7 separate regions of the Homo sapiens genome follow, and all the other regions are linked to region 1. Evidence: promoter capture Hi-C in 16 types of primary human blood cells and fetal thymus (Javierre and others, 2016). All regions are on one chromosome and are shown on one strand. Each heading gives the region's core, a stretch centred on a gene start or on the middle of the fragment in contact. The rest is flanking DNA. Distances are from core to core; before and after follow the strand shown. Region 1 holds the start of APCDD1 (APC down-regulated 1). Region 2 overlaps VAPA (VAMP associated protein A). Region 3 has its middle 77 kb from the start of VAPA. Region 4 has its middle 170 kb from the start of VAPA. Region 5 has its middle 200 kb from the start of VAPA. Region 6 has its middle 230 kb from the start of VAPA. Region 7 overlaps LOC124904247 (a long non-coding RNA gene).

Region 1 (2,954 bases), core at 174-2,673:
CTGACTTTCAGTCCTGGCTACCATGCATTCTGAAGCCGGAGCCCGCTACAGGTTTGGGGTGGCTGTGGTGGGTGTTGAGGAAGGAGAGCCGTGAAGTCATGCTGTTGAAACGTCAGGTGTCTGACCATTAGGGACAGTTTGCTCAGGACATCCACATCAACACGACGTGATCTGCCACGGCTTGTCAGGATTATGAACCCGACGCGCCATAAAACCTGCCTTGTCCACCCCAAAGAAATTCTGTCTTGGTGTTTTCAGCGCAATTTCTGGAACCCGCTGAAAGGGCTGATGTTCTCTAGCTAAAGGTTTACTAGAACCCCTGGGGAAAAGTGGCACTGGAAGCCCAGGAAATGGGACGTCAAGTTGGGGTGCACATTGGGAGACTGGTAATAATGATTAAATCTTGGCTAATAGGGGTCCCCTGTTTCTTAAAATTACACCCAGAGAACGCAACAGTCCACTTGGGAGAAAACCCCACAACCCCGCCTCAATCGCGAGGCAAAGTGCAGGCAGACAACAAACACTAGTTTTCAGAAGGCAGACAGACGTGTCTTTCCCAAATGATCAGTTTCTCTTTCCACTCTCCTAAACGCTTGGAACACATCAAGAGCCTGCTGCATTCTGGCATTTTGGAAAAAGGCTCGCAGAGCCGGCGATTTCATGGCAGTGTACAGTTGGAAAATCCAGCAGAGCGGACGAAAGTTTCCCTCGGACTGGATGCAACGGATTCTGGACATAAAAGGTGTCTGCGTGGGAGAGCTTCCACCCTTCCAAAAAGAACAGTCCCGCAGCAAAGAGCTCCGGGCGCCCTGGGGGAGAGCGGTCCCAAGCCTCGGAAAGTGGGCAGAGCCCCCTCTCCCAGGGCTGAGACGGCAGGCGCGGGGCTCCCCTCGGACCCGCCCCGCCAAGGGGACAGTGTAGGCCGTGCCGCGATCCAGACCCGACGCCTCCGCGGGCTCCGCGGCGCCCGGGCTGCCTCCGCCGGCTGGGAGCGCTCGAGTGGCCCTCGGGAACTCACCGTGAAGCAGGAGGGCCGGGAACAGGTATCTGAGCAGGAGGCGGCGCGGCCAGGACATTTCCAGTCCTGCTCTGGGGCCTCCCGCACGCCGCGCTCCGATTTGGTGCCCGGGCAACTGGGCGCGCGCTCTGCCCTCCGCCTCCGGCCGGGTGCGGCCGGGCCAGGCCGGGGCTTCAGGCGGCTGCCGCGCGCCCCATGCCCGGCGGGCTAGGCGCGGGGCTGCGGGGCGCGCGCTCTCTGGGCGCCGTCGGGCGGCTGTGGGCGCCCCGGCCCGGTCCGCGTCCCGGCCTCTCTGCCGCCCGCCCCGACTTCTCCGCGCCCGGCCCCGCGTCCCGCCCCGGCCGCCGCGTGCGCCGCTCTGAGCTGCAGTGGCCGCCACCGCCACCGCAGCTGCAGCGTCTCTTCATATTTCCAGCGCGCCGCCGGCCGGGCAGCCTGGCCGCGGCACGGAGGAGGGGCCCTGGAGGGGGCGGTCGGGGGAGGCGACGCCGAGCCACCGCCCCCGGGCAGCCGCCGCCGGGGGGGAGCGCGGAGACTTGAAAGGGCGCGTCGGGCAACGCCTCCCCTCCTCCCACTCCGGGCGCCCCTCCTCCCCCCGCTCCCCTCCCGCTTCCCTCCTTCCCCTCTCTCGCCTACCCCTCCTCTTCCAGCTTCCTACCCCTTCCATCCTCCCCTCCTCCTCTCCTCCCTCCAGGCCCCTCTGCCTCCCTCTGGCTCTGCGCACCCCTTTCTCTCCTCCCCGTCCCCCATTCCGGGCGCGCTTCCTCCTTGGAGGGGGTGGGAGCCTTTGGCCCCGCACCCCGCCCGCAAGGAAAGAGAATGCGCGGGTCACCCTTCCGCCTCCGCCCACTCCCCTGGGGAAAGGTGTTCAAAGGGGGTGCGGGCGGCGAGGCTGGAGGCCTGGCGTGGGATCCAAGCAAAGCGGCCTGCTGAGCCGGGGTGTGTGCCAGCGCGCAGCCATGGGAGAGAGGGGAGACCAAAGAGAGAGTCCTGGAGGGTTGCTGGGGGTGAGGATGCGTCAGTGCTGGGCCCCCTCGTGGGTGCGGTGCAGGTCTTCACTACAAATCGCCTACCCCGGCCCAGTGCCTGGCTCCTCTGGGGAGCACGGAGAACCTTGTCATAGGCCCCAACCTGGGAAGGGCACGGTGTAGGAGGCAGGAGCCCGTTCACTTTTTCCTCCCCCTTCCACTAGGCAAATGACTTGTTGAAACGGGAGAAATCTCCGAGAAACGCTCCCTGTCAGTCTAAGAACGTGCACTTAGGCCCCTTCGCCGAGTCCTCTTCTCTTCCAGAGCAAATTGAATCACCACAATCAAAGCTGATTTTATTTGTGTTCGCGGTCTTGTGGGGGAGGGGGGACTACATGGGCGTTTGAGACCCAAAGGCAGGAAGAGTTTCCCCTGGGGTCCTTCGTTCTCCAATGCGGGTACAAGGCAGTGGCCATCTGATTTACCTGGAAGGTCCCTCCTCTGCCAAGGGCCTGCTTGAGCCCTTCCCCTCTTCCAGCAGTTTTCCCCCTCCTAAGGTTAATGTCACCTCTTCTCCACACTAGGATAAAGAGCAGACAGGAGACCCAGTGGAGTCTAGAGAACATTTCTTGACGCAACCGTTAGTGTTTTTCATTTAAAAAAAAGATTAAAATAAATGCCTGATTTCCCAAGAGAATTCTCTGCCCCTTTGAACAATGCAATAATTCAACTCCTTATGTGTTAGACTTTCAAAAGTAGTTGGATCTTAGCAACGGTATAATAGTAAAATAGATGAGAATACATTTGACAGTTTCCACTTTTCTTTTTTTTTTTTTAACCTGAGAAATCCATGGGTGTTTTGATGTGATAGTGCTGACGCTGTTTGATGTGTCTTAATTTTTATCACCATCATTATCATCTTTCCATCATTAATACAGAGGATCATAAGATGTACCAGCTGCTCAGCT
Region 2 (2,954 bases), core at 332-2,831, 500 kb after region 1:
CAAGAGGTTTTATAAAAGATACCACAGCGCCCAATAACACAATATATGTGTGATCTGACAAATTCAAAACACAGTTGAAATGAAAAGGCAACCAAAATACTTCAGAGTACTTCATTCTTCTATAAAATGTGTACACAGACCTGGGCCTAAAATACTTCACTGCACCACATCCAGTTCTAAAATCCAATTTCCTTTTCAGGTAGAGCGCATCTTTTAAAAAAAGAGCCAACACACCTATGTTTAAGAATAAAAATTCACTTGTACTAGATTGTATGTAGCTAAACACTGGATCTATTTTCTGATTCCAAAATTTTCTATCCTAGTATGAATAAATGAAGAATAGGACAAACCTAAGTGCAGGAAAGTATCAAACCCTGTAACGCATACTTATACTGAAAATGTGTTTCACATGGTTAACATTTGCAAAGGCTAAAATCATTTTTCATAAAGAAAATTCCACAGGCTTGCTCAGTATTACCAAACTTCCATAATGAACATTATTTTGAGTGCCAAATTGAGCACGAAAAAAACACCTACTTTTAACTATTATGAAATATTATGAAAAGTAGTAAGACTTATTTATTAGGCTGGTTAAAAAGTAATTTAAAACCAAAGAGAGTTAAATCTTCCTTGAGAACATACTCTCAGAACTTAAGAATGGGGTAAATCAGATGGAGCACAGCCATGCTGTACACATCAACTCACTGAAATCACATAACTTCTATTCTCATGGACCTTATTTTCTATTATCTTGAAAACAAACTGATTATAATCTCCCAAAATACCAGTGGTACCTTAAAATTTAATCAACTCCTTTCCTTAACAGAATTAGGACTTTCAATTAAAAATACTGTAATATCCAAGAGGGTTTCAATGCAAGAGAAACCTTTGCATCATAATTTCAAGTGACCATATATAGTGGAGTTCCCTCTAATAACACGACAGACACAAACAAGCTATCGAGCAAGAATCTGTTAACAGTTTTATTTTTTTTTATGTTAAATACCATGGGACAGGATTGTAAGGATGAAAAACTCAGTCAACAACTGCCTCACAAGGGATAAGAAAAATTCTGCCATGATATTAGCAAAGGTAAAGGAGGAAAAATTTACACTGTAAGAGGCACCATTTCCCCAAGGAATACCTCTTGGCATTTCCTGAATGAGTGGGATTAGCAATCTAAATAAATCATATTTCAAGAGGTAACAGCAACAGATAAAATTTAAAGGGATTATTAAAATAACATTTACAAGACTCTGAACAATTCTTGAACTCTTATTAAAACCACAAAGAAAGAACAATTCTTTATTTATGAATTTCATAAAGGACTCAATGTGCAACTGACATCTGCTAGTGATGATCTGGTAATATACAACCTGTCCAGTAGCCGAACAGTTTGTTTTTATTGTGTTTTCTAACCGTAAGAGATCATTAAAGGCAAAGCCTATATGACGCTGTACACACAAAAAAATGGTCACCGTGGGCCATACTACCAATGAAATGGTAGGTAAACAAATCTTTTTCTGGTCAAGAGAAAAAAAAAAAAAGAAACAGCACTCTGCATGCTTCACTCTACAAGATGAATTTCCCTAGAAAGAATCCAATGAAAATGGCTGCAATTACAACAAGAAGTGAAGGAAGAGGACTGGTGACATTATCTCTGAAGGATGCAGTTGAGGTTGATCCAGGTTTATCCGAATGTGCTACCTTTCTGAGCCTTAAACCTTCATCCTAGAAAAAAAACACACACACAAAAGGTTTTTAAAAACAAGCATACTAACGAGACTACTGGAGCTAAAAATCTATAGGGACGGAAAGTAGATTAGTGGTTGCCTATGGCTGGGGACGGAAAAGGGGATTAACTGCTAACCACATAAGGAAACTTTCCGGGGGTGATAGACATTCTAAAACTGAACTATAGTGATGGTTACAAAGTTCTATGTATCAATGAATTGTACACTCACAGTGGGTGTCTCCATGGGATATAAATTATACCTCAATAACACTGATTTTTTAAAACTGGAGCTGAGAAATGTATTCCTAAAAAGCAAAAGTTAGATAGGCTATATTTACCTTTTTTTAAATCCCACTAAAAATATAATTAAAGAAGAGTACTTCCAAGGTGGCCCATGGTATTTAAAATCAGTTACATCCGTCCTAGCCCAATCAGCCAAAAACTACCCAGACCTGTAGTCTGCCATTTGGGTTTACTGACACACTGCAACTAAGGAACCGGAACAGCAGAGGCACAAAAGGGTGTTCTTGCCGTAAACAGAGATATGGTATCACAGAATTTGGGGGAAGGAAACAGTTTAGCGTGAAATTTAAGTAACAGTGTTTTTATATGCTCAAAGCAAAGCAGAGGGCTGTGTGTAAAGTGGTAGCACCAGGTCTCGACTGCAAAGCAGAGAAAGAATACTGTTTCTTCAGAAACTACAAATTTAGATGAGAAATGTACATAGGAAACCCTTATCTGAAGCTCTGCACCTGGACTGGAAAATGAGGGTGCTTCTCTGTGTCAAAATGACTTAGATCCTCCAGTCAAGAGTAGGCTGCTTCATTCTTGCTGATATGGCTTCACACAGCACTATGTCTTTAGAGCAGAAGGTTTCTCAGAAGAAAGCAGAAGTCACTCCAAGCAGGAGGTTGTTATGACACTGTGTGCAATGTGAACCTTGGGAAAAATACTAATACCTGTTAACTACACAGTTGTCTTTATCTCTGTCTGTTAACCAATCTGATAAATGGCAGGACAGTTTTTTACTTTTTTCAGTACAAGGCAATATTTTCTCCCATGATTCCTTTATTGTGCTTATAAATAAACACTAACTAAAAGAGTACACCTAATGGCACAGTTTTATTTGCATTACTGGATTTTCTGGAGTTGGGTTTTTTTGGTCTCATGCTAATTAGTCCTATATAAACAGTAATTCTCAGTTTCAGCTACACATCAC
Region 3 (2,954 bases), core at 201-2,700, 460 kb after region 1:
GACTTTGCTGTTGTTGTGACTCTGATGTGGGGGCTCTGCTGGCCAGAGACACCCCCTCCGCTTACACAGAGCTGGCAGATGGAAACAGTATCAGGACATCTCCATTACACAACAGGCTTTCACAGGGCGATGGTTCACATTTTACTGCAGTTTCCTTTGGAAATGCTCAAAGCAACTACATCCGTTTCCTTTCATTGGGACTTTTATGTTTTTCCAGCCAAAAAAGGAGAGGATAAAGTTCATTAAGTCAGAATAGTAATAATGACGAGGTCCACATAAATTTTGTTGTGTTTGGTGCTTTTAAATATTGAAGGATTCACCACCCTCTTCCACTCCCTCTTTCTTAGTTAGGGAGTGAAGATGATGAGAAGACTGCTAAGCCTCAGGGTGACACCTCAGAGGTCCTGCCAGCTGTAAAGAACTCACCACGGACTTTCCAAGAGGATGGTGACATTCCCAGACTACCACTGGGAGCTGCCAAAAACTCAGCTCAAAAACCCCAGCGACTAGGGCGGTCGTTGTGTGTGTGGCTAGCCAAGTCACACAGAGGAGACTTAGATGGCCCCACATTTTATTTTTTGAGGAAGGTAAAAACCTGCCACAGATGAGCAGGACAGGAGATGGGAGTAGAAGGAGGTAGGGTCCAGGACATGAAGATTCACCTAAGTTAAGAAGTTCAGACTTCATCCCAAATACATAGAATCTATTGGAAATCTTGATCAGGAGGTGACTTATATGTGCATTTTGAAAAGATCGCTCCAGCTTTAGTCTGGATAATGGATTGAAAAAAAATAGTAATTTCAAGACAGAAAGACCTAGGAGCAGGTGTGGCGACTGGATGAGAACTGGCAGTGGCCTGGATGTGGGGATCTCAGTGGGGAAGGGATACGGGGACAGACAGGATGCATTTGGGAGAATTCACAGGACTTCATGATTCATTGGATGGTGTCAAAATGCGGGGTAAGAAATCTGGGAAAGTCAAGGGAGACCCTCCAAGTTCTGGATAGGGCCACTGGGTAGAGAATGGTCCCGTTCACCTCAGACAGAAACAGAAAGGAGCATAGGTGTGAGAAGCTGGAGCCCCACTGTGGACCTGCTGAGTCTGAGGCATCCACGCACATCCAGGGGGAGCCGCAGGTGTGCGGCGCTCAGGGAGACAACCGGTAGGACACTTAGACCTGAGTTGTCAGAGGACATAGCGGGGTTCCAAGCCCTGGGAAGAGATCCCACCGATCACGGGGCAGAGAGGCTGAGAAGGGAAGAGAAGCCGGGACCAAAGAAGCTCCGGCAGAGCCGAAGAAGCCTGGCAAAGGTGATGCAGAGGCACCTCCAGTGGGAGGAGAAACCAGAAAAGGATCCACAGCAGCATCAAGGCTGAGAAAATGTTTCCAGAACAAGGTCAGCAGCGTCACGTGCCGCTAGGAGTCATTGGTCCCAGAGCCACAAGGAGGTCCTCAGTGGCCTTGCTGAGAGCTGTGTTGGGGGTAACAGAATCTGTGAATAAGGGAGAGGAGAGGAGGAGGGGACAAAACGCCACGTGGTGGCCATAAAGAGGAGAGGCGATGTGGAAACACAGGTCAGGGGAATTCTCTTTTTGAACCTATGAAAGACACCTGAGAACGTTTGAATGCGGATGGGAAGGAGCGCATAGAAAGGGCGGAGAGACATAGGCGGAGAAGAAGTAGACTCAGAGCAGTCTCTGTGGAGGCGAGAGGGGAGCGGCCGGGATCGCCAGGAACCTGGGATGAGGAAGAGGCTGGGGAGGAAGGAAGGCAGGCTAGACACGTGAATGCTGGCCCTGAAAGTTCCGAGTTCCCCCCAGTAGGTTCTGCTTTCCCTGTGTGTGTGAGAAGGGAGCAGGGAGAACCAAAGATCTGAGAAGAGTCTAGAAATATCTACATCACTTAAAGGAAGGCATACCTTCCAGTGAAGGAGCTGTCCTCCCATCCTCTGGGAAGCCAGGGACTAGGCGGTGAGGAAGGTAAGACACTATCCAGGGGGCAGACGGGCACTCAGGGAGTGCAACTGGGAGGCCGCCCCGGTCTGGGCGCTGGTTAAACTCACGTACAAACTTGATAGATTTCATTATTTGAATCATTTGTTCTGCAGTTCTGTGTATTTGTGGAGCTCCTACCAGGAAGCATGCCTGTTCAGGGCAGCCCTGGACAGACAATGGCTGGTGGGGAAGGCAGCGCCCCCAGGCTGACCCCCACCAACACCACCCCAAACACTCCCCAGCCATCAGCCTCAGCTTACCCTTCAGCACCTCCAGGGTCCATCCTGCAGGAAGGCACTCAGGAGCTCTTGCTTTTTTAAAGTGCTTATTGGGGCTTTGGACATATATTTCTCCCAACCCATGAGCCTGATGGTATTCCGTATTTGAAGAAACTGAGTGACAACAGGCTGATTGGCTACATGACTTCCTAGGATCTCAGGATGTTTGAGGGATGCACAGCCTACAAACTGAGAAGACATAAAATGAGGCTGGTCTGACCGTGCCCTTCTCACCCACCTTCCCTGGAGATGAATGAGCACTTCAGGAAGGCCCGCGTGCCGCCTCCGAGGAAGAATGAATAAACTTCTGTTCAGATAGGCCGAGTGCCCCTGCAGGGCAGCCCCTCCACGGTGGCAAGGACTCCTCCACGCATTACCCTAGAACCAATTCCATTTTGAAGAAAAAGAGACCACCTGAGGTGAAATTAAACAGCTGACTGAAAGGAGTCCTGAAATGGACAATATAAAAGGAAACACAACCACCCCAGACAGGGAGGAGCAGCTGCAGGAACTTAGGGGGCCAGACACAGTTGACTTATTGGCAGCTTGGCTCAAAACGTCACCATGAAAAGATCTATAATGGCCAATGTCTCATCTCATGCTTGCGTCTGTAAGCAAATTACATAACCTCCCTGTGCCTCAGTTTCCCCATTTGTAAAATTTGGATAAAACAGAATACC
Region 4 (2,954 bases), core at 193-2,692, 370 kb after region 1:
CTCCATCTAAATTCAACATGTACCAGCCCACGTGGCAAGAAAGAGAGAAATAACAGTGCCTACTATGTGGGGGTTGCAGTGAGAATCCAATGAGAAGCATTTACCAACATGCTGAGCATGTAGTAAGTCCTCAATGACTGTGAGATAATCCATATCTGACCATTCTATTCCTGTGCCTTATCAACCTGTTCCTAGTGGCCACTAGTCCTAGAACCAAATTCTCCTTTAAGAAGCATCCTTAGATGAAGTGGCCCTTGGCAGGATTTTGTCCAGCTCCCATGCAAAAAGCCAAAATCAGAACTTTCTTCCCCTCTCCTCATTCCCTATGGGCTCTGGGAGAGATTTAGTTTCACAGGAAAGGGGCAAAACAACGTTCACAGGCCCCCAGGTACCTCTCCTACCCAGCCCTTCCCAGATATTCTGTTCTGTATTTAGGAGTGAGTATAATGAGCTGGGCTAAAGGAGTGTCATGTTTTGGTCTGCTTGTTTTTTTTTTTTTTTTTTTACTTTGGTCGTTTTTTGTTTTGGAGAAAAAGAAAAGAATTTCATGGTGTACTAATTTTCTTTCCGGAGTTAAAAACATTCAAGAAGAGACACCTCATGAAAGAAGAGATGCAGATGGCAAATAAGCACATCCTCCACATCACATGTCATCAGGAAATGCAAATTAACACAGCAGTGAGATCCCACTGCACACCTATTAGAATGGTCAACGTCTAGAACACGACAACACCAAATGCTGACAAGGATGTGGAGCAACAAGAACTGTCTTCCATTGCTGGTGGGAATGCAAAAGGGTATAGCCACTTTGGAAGACAGCTTGGTGCTTTCTTATGAAACTAAACAGTCTTACCATACGATCCAGCAATGTGCACCTTGGTATTTACCCAAAACAGTTGAAAACATATGTTCACACAGAAACTTGTACGCAGATGTTTAGAGCAGCTTTATTCATTATTGCCACAACTTGGAAGCAAACAAGATGTCCTTCAGTAGGTGAATGGATAAATAAACTGTAGTACAGCCAGATAATGGAATATTATTCAGCACTAGAAAGAAATGCCCTATCAAGCCATGAAAAGATGTGGAGGAAACTTAAATGCATATTGGTAAGTGAAATAAGCCAATCTGAAAAGGTTACATGCTATATGATTCCAATGATATGACATTCTGAAAAAGGCAAATCTATGGATACAGTAAAAAGGTTAGTGGCTGCCATGGGTTGACCCCTTACACTGAGCTTGTGAACCAATTTTTAAAATGGTGCTAACAAATGTGAACCTGAAAGAGCCAGTCCTTGAAGGTGGATCCAAAGTGGCTGACTGGGCCTAAATATAAAATAGAGACATGCAGCTATTTGCTGATGAGGAGTCACACACATACTCTGGAGGTCCCCAAAACCAACACCTCTGTTCAACTTTGGGACACCAGAGCTCACCTGAACCAACCAATCATTGGCCAAGAGCTCAGCTGCCTTGGCCAATCAGGGCTCAGCTGTATCAACCAATCAGGGCTCAGTTGTATTAACCAATCAGGGCTCAGCTACACTGAGGATACTAAGCAAAATATTGGGGTCTTTAGAGTCCTGCCTCAGAGTTTACCAGGACTGTGACATCCCTGAAGAACTCTCCATTCGGATAGCTCTGAACTGAAAGGGAAAATGTGCTTCCTCTGCAGCCATGTCCCATTCCGAGGGCATCAGTCCACCTGCCTGACCCCCAGCCAGAGTTAGGAGAGGGTCCCACCCCCGTTGGGAGGAGCAGCTGTAGCCATGCCTGGGCTCAGGATGTCCTGAGAGGGTGGGTGCTGGAGTACACACACAGCATAGGTCTGTGCCAGCAGCCTCCCTCACCTGATGACCTCACCCCTCCAGGGAGCACCCACAGGGCCCCATCCCCTAATCCTGAAACCAGCCCAGTTGTTCCATAGAACTGATGTTTATGGTTTCTTTTGAATAAGCATAGAAATTGGTCCTTCTAGTTTTAAAACTAGAAAGTTACATTTGTCTTATCTGAGTTCCTTTCTCAGGAAAGCAACCATCAGCGCTCACAGATAGTTTCAAGGAACTGAAACTTTCCAGATCACAGCATCAGGACAATGAGACACCAGACCCCTCACCCATCATGATTGCATAACCCACCACCTGCTGCCTGTTGACTAACTCCTCTTCCTTACCCCTCCCTAATTCCTGTTTTCCCATAAGTAGTTACGTTTCTTCCCCGCTATGTAAACTCTTAATTTTAGTCAGTTTAGGAGATGGATTTGAGACTGATCTCCCATCTCCTTGACTGTACCATCTGAATAAAGCTGCCTTCCCCGGCAATACTTGTCTCAGTGATTGGCTTTCTGTGTGGCAAGCAACAGGACCTAGACCAAACCCCTGGTGTTTCAGTAACAATCCCACTCTCCCACAGCCTTTGGAGCCATCACCCTAACCTGTGCTCTCTCTGCTCTCTGTCTGTCTCCCCTGCTCTCAGCATTTTGCAAACCAGCTCATCAGTGAGTTGAAAATCAAACCACTCTCAAAACAGCTCAAGAAAGCAATCACTTTGTCTTCTACTATTCGGTGGTGGTGCATGCATGCTTCTGTCTCCTTCCCAGCCAGCCCATGCCTGGATGAAACTGTGACCATGGTGACAGCTAGACATCACTGTGCCTACTCTGAAAGACAAGGCTCCCGCCACAGACAGAGGACATTTAAAAATAAGAATGATTTTTACTAGACCTGTCTGAAAATACAGTCACCAAAAAAATTCCATGCTCTGGGGTGCTGACCTAAAGACTTCAAATCACAGCCCTCCCTGTTAAATGTCAAACTTTTCCCAGGACACCTCTAAAATGAGAAGGGTTCAATGCTGCACAGGAGATGTTTATGAACTATTCTGTTTTGAAACGGTAATGCAATGACAACAAGTCTTCAAGAAATATATCCTAGTAGAAATTCCCATGCAGGA
Region 5 (2,954 bases), core at 231-2,730, 340 kb after region 1:
TTCAGTGGCAATGGTTTCTGTGCAATGCCCACCATTCTCTTCTGCTGCCTCCTCGTAACCTGGGTCTGAGTTTCTGAGAAAGCTGGACACGGGTCACCTGTGGACCATGGTTACGAGAAACAACACTGCCCCCAAATCCAAAAGTAACTCAGAACCATGGACAACAGGGCTCATATAAGAATGGCAAGGCATACCTGTGTGAATATTTAACTTGCATTTATATATCTAATGTAAGTTAAAATATATTTTTTCAACTTGTATTATTCCTGTGTCAATGTTTGAGTATTCAGTAACTCAAAACAATGGTTATTTAGCTTTTGTTTGCTGAAATGACCGAATCTAAACTTCATCATTTATAAATTTAGTTAAAACTTACAATTGTTCTTTCCTTAAGAAAGGAAGATCACTAGAATTTTTCTTAAGCTTAACTAGAAATTTGAAGCATAGAGACATTTTCCTACAATAAGAAACTGAAAGAGAATTGGAAGAGAACAAGAAAAAGGAGGATTTTATATGCACGTTAGAAACAAAGATTTTTTTAACATTAAATGCATTTGTCTGTGGGAGATGAAAGATAGGAAAAAGCAGGTAGCCTGATGTGTGTATAATATTTCCAAAGGAAAGAGAAAAAATGGTGATCCTGACCTTGGTCAAAGAATACCTCATATCAGCCACCGGCATCTTCCCCAGGACACTTGGGTAAGAATCACAACGATGATCAACAATAAATCATGTTTACTGAGCACACATCATTTGTCAGGAACTTTGGGGAAAACCTCTATGTGAGAGGTTACTTCATGTAGGGAAAAATGTGGACAGTTTCGAACTGGACAAAAAAGATCACTGGCGGTCTTTTCAATGGAATCCTAGAGATGCCTCAGGGGTATGCTCCTCCACTTTGACTAGAGTGTTTTACAACTCTGTAGAGGTGAAAGTTAACTTGTAGCAAACTGGGAGTGATGCAACTTACTCCTGTCTGTAGAAATGCAAATTGTGTCCAGTGGAATGCAACTGACTATCACACTGTAGAAACTGACCAATTTTGCCTCCATTGCATATGTAAGATGTGTAAGTTCATTTCGTCCTCCTTTTTTTTTTTTTTTTTTTCTTTTTCTGGGATGGAATCTCGCTCTGTCACCCAGGCTGGAGTGCAGTGGCGCCATCTCCACTCACTGCAACCTCCGCCTCCTGGGTTCAAGCAATTCTCCTGCCTCAGCTTCCCGAGAAGCTGGGATTACAGGTGCCCACCACCATGCCTGGCTAATTTTTGTATTTTTAGCAGAGACAAGGTTTCACCATGTTGAGCAGTCCTTCTTTATCTGACTATAGATGTGTGGATCTTGAGTTCTCTTTTGAGCCAGTTGTAATATCGAGTGACTTCCTCATTAATCGAGTTAAATAAAATCCTTGGCACATGTTCATTTTATGATTGTGTGAGAGTCATGATTTTACTGTCTTTTAAAATTTAGTCTTTAACACTCTTCTAATCTTCATGATAATACTATGAACAAGAGGAGCAGGTTTGCTGGGAATCTTCTAGCAAAAGGTAGAAGGTAGAAGGGAAGGCCCGGGCAGCCAGCCCACACCTGGCTTCAAAGAAAGGGGCTTTCATATAATTTTATCTGAACTCCCTTTTAATATGTGAATAATTCTTCCCCAGCACCCCTACATTCATAAAGTGTCCAGTGCACAGGAGCTCACTACCTAACAGCAACTTCCACTCCAAAGTTGGAAAGCTGTAGTCTGAGACAGATATTTCTTACATTGAAAGGAATTTTCTTCTCCTGAAATATTAGCCATTCTCCCGGGAAAGCAATCTACTCCCTTTTCTGCAAGAGTATTTTAACTCTTTGAAGGCCAACATCTCATATTCCCCCGGTCTTCTCCAGATAAAACCCGTTAGCTATTCCTTAATTGAGATGGTTTTAAGACCCCCTCATCATCTTGTCTTTTCTTGGTGCTCTTGATTTCATGTCTCCCTAAAATTGAGGCACCAAAAAATTGAACACAATTCTGACCCACCCAGAACATTGATCTCATGGTCTAAGTTCTAGAAATGTGTAGAGTGTTAATAACCCCATGTTTATAATTTGAGGGGTTGTCTATAATTTGCTTAGGCTCCTTTGTATGTATGGAGCTGGCCCCAGCTCTTTCTGCTTTTTTGTGTGTACTATCATACAACTCTTCCTAATGTATGTAAACTATGTCGGTTCTTTTTTAAATATGTATACCTACTTATTTCTAGTTAGATTCATTAAAACCATTATTTCTAAAACAATCAGTTATCCCTTTTATTCTATTTTTATTGAAAAAATCTGCTGTCTTCTGTTTATATTAACAGATTAGTTCTGATGATTAAAAACATAAACTATCTGTTTGATGGAAGGCACCATGGTGGGGTTGTGGAAGCATGTGACAACTCATTTTGACACTGTAAACTAACAATCAATCAATATTTACAGCTACCATTCATACTCCTTCAGGAAATCATGCTGGTGAATTCCACGTTTCTGACAGTTCCCCACCTAGAAAGCTTGCCAGTTGTGGGAAGCCAATGTGGTGATGAAAAGCATCCTACAGTTCCCTAAGCTGCTAACAAAGCTGCAGAAGATTAACCGAAGGAAAGAAATATCCCAATACCCCTGGGCCTGTAATAAACGTGATCCACTACCCCTCCTGCCACTCCCCATCTTCCAGCCCCTGGCTGGCCAGAGCAGTCTGCGGAAGCCTAACCTGTAATCAGGCTGCAATAGGAGTGAGAGAAAGAATCACAAAGCAGAGGAACAGGAATGCTGGATGTCTTCTCTACCAGATGCTCCTCTGCATGCCCAAGGTTCCAAAACAGAGGGAGCTTTAAATCTGACTCCTCTCTTCACAGAGCTGAGTGCACCCTCCCTGCTGAGCTGCATTCATGGGCAAACAAACCCTCCATGAAGGTTAGCGCTCCGTGGTGC
Region 6 (2,954 bases), core at 330-2,829, 310 kb after region 1:
AATCAGGAAGAGACTTTGGCCATTTCAAAAATAAACTTCTCTGCCCACCTCAGTTCATTCGGCTGAAACAGACCAGGGTGAGTCTCACAGTGTCTTCTCCTATTTGGCTACTTTAGCCTGGGGTACTCACACAGGTCAACCCATCTGAACACATGAAAATAGTTCCCATTTAGGCAACCTCAGTTTCTCTTTTATAATCCCTGCAAAGTTAATATAGACTTTCAGGCTAGATTCTACCCAGCTCCAACATTCAACACATCACTCACCTGGTGTGAAAGGAGCCCAGGTCAATATCTAGCTAATGTGTGCCCTGCTGAATCGGCCCGATGACTAACTCTTTTATGTGCTTGCTTCTTGTGAGCTGAAAACTAAACAGAAACTATTTACAAAGCCCAGGGGCCTGAATGGGTGGCTCTCTCAGCAGGGGGTGGGGCCCCACCAAGCTTGGGATGAGGTTGTCAGCTGGGGCCAATTTAGATTTCCCTGACCGCCACTGTCAGCCTTCTCCAGCTTTTGCACAAATTCTATATTCCACTGACTATAGCCTCCCAGCCTCAAATCACTTTGGGAAGCTCTACAAAGACTCATCTCTGACCTGGGTCTTTGTTGTTATTTCCTGCATGAAAATGGGGGTAGGAGAAAAAAAGAGAGACTTTTTTTTCACTGTGTCAGAGTTTGTAAAGTGACACTTGAGTAAGTCTGTGGGGTTAGAGTTATTCAGAGCAAAGGCATACTGTGAAGGAAGCACTTTACAACAGATTGGGTAACAAATCCCGGCCCTGTGTCTGCAGGGCTGATTTTTCGCCTGAAACTAAGAGCTGCAGCTCAGCTTCCTCCTGGGCACCACTTCAGTTCAACAAGCCCAAAGCCACCCTGACCAACTGCCGTCCTAGGGCCCCTCTCACTCCTACATGAGTCTGCCATTGGCCCAGTGCTTCAAACCCACAGTCTGCCTCCCCTCCCATCAGTCACCAAATCTCACCAAGTCGACTTCCTTTCTGCTGCTCACCCCTTTCCACTCTCCCACCACTCTGCTGCTGCCAGTGTGGATGGGCCCGTATCCTCTCCACCTGCACTAGAGTAACATTCCCCTCGCAGGGGCCCCTGCTTCCAGTTCATCCCTCCAATCCTTGCTCCACACTGCAGTCAAGGGTGAGCTTTCTGAAGCAAAAACTCTTCTCAAGTCATTCCCTCCTTGCAGGGCTGCCAGGCCTGCAGGGAACACTGTCCAGTTTTCTAGGAGTGCAACTGAGTCAGGGGCGGGGATTCTGGAGGAGGCTGAGATTTGAGAAGGATGAGTCAGCTCCAGACAAGTTGAGTTTGAAGTGGCTTGAATCATCCTGGAAAAAATGTCATATGGGAAGCAGATAGTCTGTCTAAAGCTCGAAAGAAATGCAGCGGCTGGAGATGGGCCCTGGAAAAACGGGCTTTATCTCTGGCCCTGTCCTCCACAGATCCCGCTGTCCTGCACCATGTTTCAGACACACTGGCCTCCTTGCAGTTCCACATGCCCTTCATGCCCTCATCTCCTGGAGCTTTACAGATGGAGACCCACATATGGAAACACTCTCTCCAGCCTTCTCACACGCTTTGCCTGCTGATCCTCTACTTGTCCTTCAGGACTTGGTTTCAACAGCAACCCCAACAGGATGTGCTCCCAAAGCACATGCACTTGCCACCAGGGCCACATTGATCGTTCATGCTGAGATCAACTATTTCCTGTCTTCTCCCACCACTAGACTCCAAGATCTGGGGTATGCGCTCAGTAAATATCTGTTAAGCAAAAGAATGATTAATTGTTTAATTATTTATCTACAGTATCAAGAAGTTCTATAAGCCCCAGGAAAGATAAATATAAAGAAATGCACACCTAGACATATCATCATAAAACTGCAAAAAAAAAAAAAAAGACAAAAAGAAAATCTTAAAAGCAGCCAGAGAAAAAAAATTCAAGTACCTTCAAGTGAGCAATAGATTGACAGCTAATGTTCCACACAAAAAAACCCCAAAAACCAAAAAAAAAAAAAAAAAAAAAAACAGAAGGCAGCAAACAATGCAATGGTATGTATCTACAAAGGACAGAAGAAAATCAGCTGCCAACCTAGTAACACACTGTGCATGGGGAAAACATGCTTCAAGAATGAAAGTTAAAGAAAGAGGCCGGGTGCGGTGGTTCACACCTGTAATTCCAACACTTTGGGAGGCCAAGGTAGGTGGATCACCTAAGGTCAGGAGTTCAAGACCAGCCTGGGCAACATGGTAAAACGCTGTCTCTACTAAAAATACAAAAATTAGCCAGGCCTGGTGGCTTGCAACTGTCATCCCAGCTACTTGGGAGGCTGAGGCAGCCTCCCGAGGCAGGAGAATCACTTGAACCTGGGAGGTGGAGGTTGCAATGAGCTGAGATGACACCACCTCACTCCCACCTGGGCAACCATAGCGAGACTCTGTCTCAAAAAATAAATACATAGAAAGTTAAAGAAAGACATTTCTGTATCAATGGAAGCTAACATATGCAAGTTGCAAGCTGACTCATACTAAGTGAAATCCTAACAGGCTTTCTTAGATGAAATGCCAGAGATCGTGAATGGTAAATATATGGGCGCATAAAGTGAATGTTGGATGTATAAAATAGCACTTGTTTATATCTGAACAGAAAAGAAGAGAAGCAGTTCTCTTTAGTCAGAAGAGATAGGCATTAGTTATGAAGCTTGGACAAGAAAGGAGAAAAGAAAAACACATTTATTGAGTCATTACTATTTTCCAGATTTTTCTACCATATGACTACTATTTCTAAGGGACGGGACTTCAGTTTCCAAGAGTTTTTAATACACTGTAACCTTACAAGACAAATTCCTACAAAATCCCACCGATTCTTAAACTCATTGATTCTACAAGGAGAGAAAGCTAACCACATGCCTCCCGGCCAGCCCGGAATCCCCAGTGGAGTTTTC
Region 7 (2,954 bases), core at 147-2,646, 290 kb after region 1:
AAGTTAAAACATCAATGTAAAGTTTATTCAAGAAGATACAGAAAACCCAAGAGAACACATAACTATTACAAAAACTGTTCTAGAAAAAAAAAAATATTGCCCCCAAAAGACACCAGACCCTCAGTGACTTTACAGGGAAGTACAATGCAAAAAATTACAGTCCAATTTCATTTATGAAACTATGCAGAAGACTCAAAATACTGGCAAATTGAGTTCAGCAGTAGGAGAAACCTGAATAGGTTGTTAAAATGTTGCAGTTGATGCAGAAATACAAGAATGGCTTGAATCAGTCTTTTAAAAAGGATAAAAGTAGTTGCCTACTCCAGGTCACTGTTGTAGGGAAAGAGGAACAGGCCTTACACAGCATATAAAGGAAAAGTTTAGAAAAACTTGCCTATAGGGAATATGAAGGTCAGAAGATGATATAATTGCTAGAGGGAAAACCATGAAACGATGAAGGGACTAAGAGAATGTTGCAATTTTAAAATAGTGTTTATTTTAGAGACAGCGTCTCACTCTTTCACTCAGGCTGGAGTGCAGTGTTAACCATGATAGCTTACTGCAACCTTGCACTACTGGGCTCAAGTGATCCTCCGGACTCAGTCTCCAGAGTATCTAGAACAACAGGTACCCTTCCCCATGCTCAACTAATTTTTTTATTTTTATTTTTTAGAAACAGAGTCTCACTGTCTTGTCCAGGCCGGTCTCAAATTCCTGGCCTCAAGCAGTCTTCCTGCCTCAGCCTTCCAAAGCACTGGGATTACAGGTGTGAGCCATCACACTTGGCCTAAAATAGTATATTTTTTAGTTATCTTTTTAACCTAATGGTAATCCTACAGAGGGTTCATTTGTAAGTTTCTTTTCATTCAGTTTTTCAGGTATGGGAGAGGTCTATGTTAAACATGTTCTAATTAGTTAGAATATAATTAAAGCTTATAATTTAATCAAAAGACCTAGTTGTTTTTTGAAATATATGTAGTTTGCAAGTGCTGTTGTTTCTGTTACCTACATAGTATGGGGCTGTAAAATGCCATATGGCATACAAAGCTAGTGGAAACAGATAGGAAGGTTCAATCTGGGCCCAGAGAAGACCCATAAGTTGAGGCAAACAGCATCACGGCTGCAACGCACACACCAGAGGGAATGGGGAGTTTGCACCATAAGTCCCTCCCCTAGTGAGGCTTGGACAGAAACCAGGCCTTGGCAGACCCAGCTTCAGACCCAGCCTCCCTGATCTGGATGGCCTGGACTTCTTTCCAGGGTAGTCCTGATGAACATCTGGCACCTATGTCCCAGTTTGCTGAGGAGTTTTCACTGCCCGAAGGAGGAGGCAGCACCTCCTTGGAGGGTTTCCTACAGAAAAATGTGGAGATGGCACTCCACCCGCTGCCCTGAGCACGTGGGTGAAGCTATTCGGACCAGGAATGCATTTAACAGGAAGCCTGGGACAGTCACAACCTGAGTGCCGAGAAATGCGGCCAAGAGCATCCATCCGCCTCCATCAGTGGACAGTCCGGCGGCGTGTGAAGGAAAGCTGCTTTCTGGGGCCTCCAGAGGGTGAAGCGTTGACATCATCTACGCTGGTGACGTTAACCAACTTAATTGATCACAGGGCATCCATGTCCCATGTCTCCAGCCTTAGTGTCCTCAGCAGCTTGTGCAAAGTCTTCTCAGAGGCTTTGAGGAAAAATATATCAATAGATAATTTAATAAGTAAAAGTGTAACAAAATATAGTGTTTAAAAATCACAAGTGTTGTGTGATTTATAGGATTCAAAATTGAATTAAGGCCCTGTGAGTTTTCCAGTAGCCCTCTCCTCCCTTGCTGCACCGACCATTCCAGACCTTTGTAGGAAGCTTCTAGGCATTTCCCCCAGGGGACTCCCCCCTCCCCAAGGACCTCAGAACCGCACCAGGATGAGGGTCACCGCAAGCTCCAGACTAGCAACGATGGGTGGCCACTGGGGTTGTTGCTGGGGTAGACCCACTGGGGGGTGAGCTACCCACTACTCTGGGCACTGGGAAGAAAAGAGAACAGAACCAAGTGATTTGAAAATCTCTATCAGTTCACATGGGAAAGCAGCTGGCAGAAAGAGGGGAGCACAGGCCCAAGGCTCCCCAGAAGCATTTCTCAGGGACTCACTCCTCAGTCAGCTGATCACTGCCATGCAGGCTTTTGGTGTTCTAGACAGGACCCCAGCAGGTCGGCAGCAGGCTAGCCCCGTGATCATTTTATAACTGTACTTTTCACCTCTGTTTTATCAGTTTATAAACCCTTTCAAAGTGAGTTTTCAGCTCTCTGACCCAGGAGTAATGGTCTGTGGTAGACCATTTGTATGGGGGGAGTTTAATTTTCATTTGTATTTCCTCTTAAAAGTTTCCTTTTTCAAGTTTAGGTATGTAAACTAAAAATAAATTCCTAAGCTCCCCCATCACCTGAATGGACCCCTCTTTGCCTGGGGACCCTGGAAAAACCTTAAAACTAAGTTCCCGGCCATGACAGGACGGGAGGTCAGACGCGTCTCATTATACCCTTCCCTCTAGTGGTTTAGACACAACAACTGACCAGCATGAATGTTAAAGTCAAGATCATAAGACAGACACAAGGGACCCTTTGTGGCAATGAGATACCACATTCCAAAGAGGACCGAAGGCCGTGCCAGGCAAGGGTGGAGTCACACAACCCTACACTTCAAGAACAAAGTGTGTTCTAAATTCCACAAGGGTTTTCTTTTTCTCTCGAAGCTGAAAAAGCACTCGCATAGAGAGATAAGTAATATTTTAACAGGGCCCAGCACGGTGGCTCACGCCTGTAATCCTAGCACTTTGGGAGGCCAAGGCAGGCTGATCACCTGAGGTCAGGAATTCTAGACCAGCCTGGCCAATATGGCGAAACCCCGTCTCCACTAAAAATACAAAAATTTGCTGGGTGTGGTGGTGAGAGCCTATAATCCC

What was found. The method cuts DNA at HindIII sites, captures the fragments that hold promoters and counts their contacts. A CHiCAGO score of 5 or more calls a contact.
Region 2: a contact is called between a fragment that was not itself captured here and the fragment with the promoter of APCDD1 in region 1, in 1 of 17 cell types (monocytes). The highest score is 5.7, in monocytes.
Region 3: a contact is called between a fragment that was not itself captured here and the fragment with the promoter of APCDD1 in region 1, in 9 of 17 cell types (M2 macrophages, naive B cells, monocytes and 6 more). The highest score is 10.8, in M2 macrophages.
Region 4: a contact is called between a fragment that was not itself captured here and the fragment with the promoter of APCDD1 in region 1, in 1 of 17 cell types (M2 macrophages). The highest score is 6.0, in M2 macrophages.
Region 5: a fragment that was not itself captured here is called in contact with the fragment with the promoter of APCDD1 in region 1 in 3 of 17 cell types (M2 macrophages, M0 macrophages and monocytes); the score reaches 7.3 in M2 macrophages.
Region 6: a contact is called between a fragment that was not itself captured here and the fragment with the promoter of APCDD1 in region 1, in 4 of 17 cell types (M2 macrophages, monocytes, M0 macrophages and 1 more). The highest score is 5.8, in M2 macrophages.
Region 7: a fragment that was not itself captured here is called in contact with the fragment with the promoter of APCDD1 in region 1 in 2 of 17 cell types (M1 macrophages and monocytes); the score reaches 6.2 in M1 macrophages.

What each region holds. Positions count from the first base shown.
Region 1 is chr18:10,453,104-10,456,057 of GRCh38, reverse strand. It overlaps APCDD1 (APC down-regulated 1), which reads right to left and starts at 1,423. Exons shown (of 5, transcript NM_153000.5): 1 at 1,019-1,423. The coding sequence starts at 1,076. The HindIII fragment of the contact is 7,093 bases long and covers 1-2,954 here.
Region 2 is chr18:9,952,830-9,955,783 of GRCh38, reverse strand. It overlaps VAPA (VAMP associated protein A), which reads right to left. Exons shown (of 6, transcript NM_194434.3): 6 at 1-1,731. The coding sequence ends at 1,573. Among named protein-coding and RNA genes, the nearest start is that of VAPA, 40 kb to the right of the region's middle. The HindIII fragment of the contact is 9,151 bases long and covers 1-2,954 here.
Region 3 is chr18:9,990,018-9,992,971 of GRCh38, reverse strand. No RefSeq gene overlaps it. Among named protein-coding and RNA genes, the nearest start is that of VAPA, 77 kb to the right of the region's middle. The HindIII fragment of the contact is 3,525 bases long and covers 1-2,954 here.
Region 4 is chr18:10,082,202-10,085,155 of GRCh38, reverse strand. No RefSeq gene overlaps it. Among named protein-coding and RNA genes, the nearest start is that of VAPA, 170 kb to the right of the region's middle. The HindIII fragment of the contact is 3,764 bases long and covers 1-2,954 here.
Region 5 is chr18:10,114,747-10,117,700 of GRCh38, reverse strand. No RefSeq gene overlaps it. Among named protein-coding and RNA genes, the nearest start is that of VAPA, 200 kb to the right of the region's middle. The HindIII fragment of the contact is 2,110 bases long and covers 426-2,535 here.
Region 6 is chr18:10,138,559-10,141,512 of GRCh38, reverse strand. No RefSeq gene overlaps it. Among named protein-coding and RNA genes, the nearest start is that of VAPA, 230 kb to the right of the region's middle. RefSeq lists an enhancer at 530-1,029. The HindIII fragment of the contact is 2,267 bases long and covers 446-2,712 here.
Region 7 is chr18:10,160,111-10,163,064 of GRCh38, reverse strand. It overlaps LOC124904247 (a long non-coding RNA gene), which reads right to left. Exons shown (of 2, transcript XR_007066286.1): 2 at 1-1,677. Among named protein-coding and RNA genes, the nearest start is that of VAPA, 250 kb to the right of the region's middle. The HindIII fragment of the contact is 924 bases long and covers 935-1,858 here.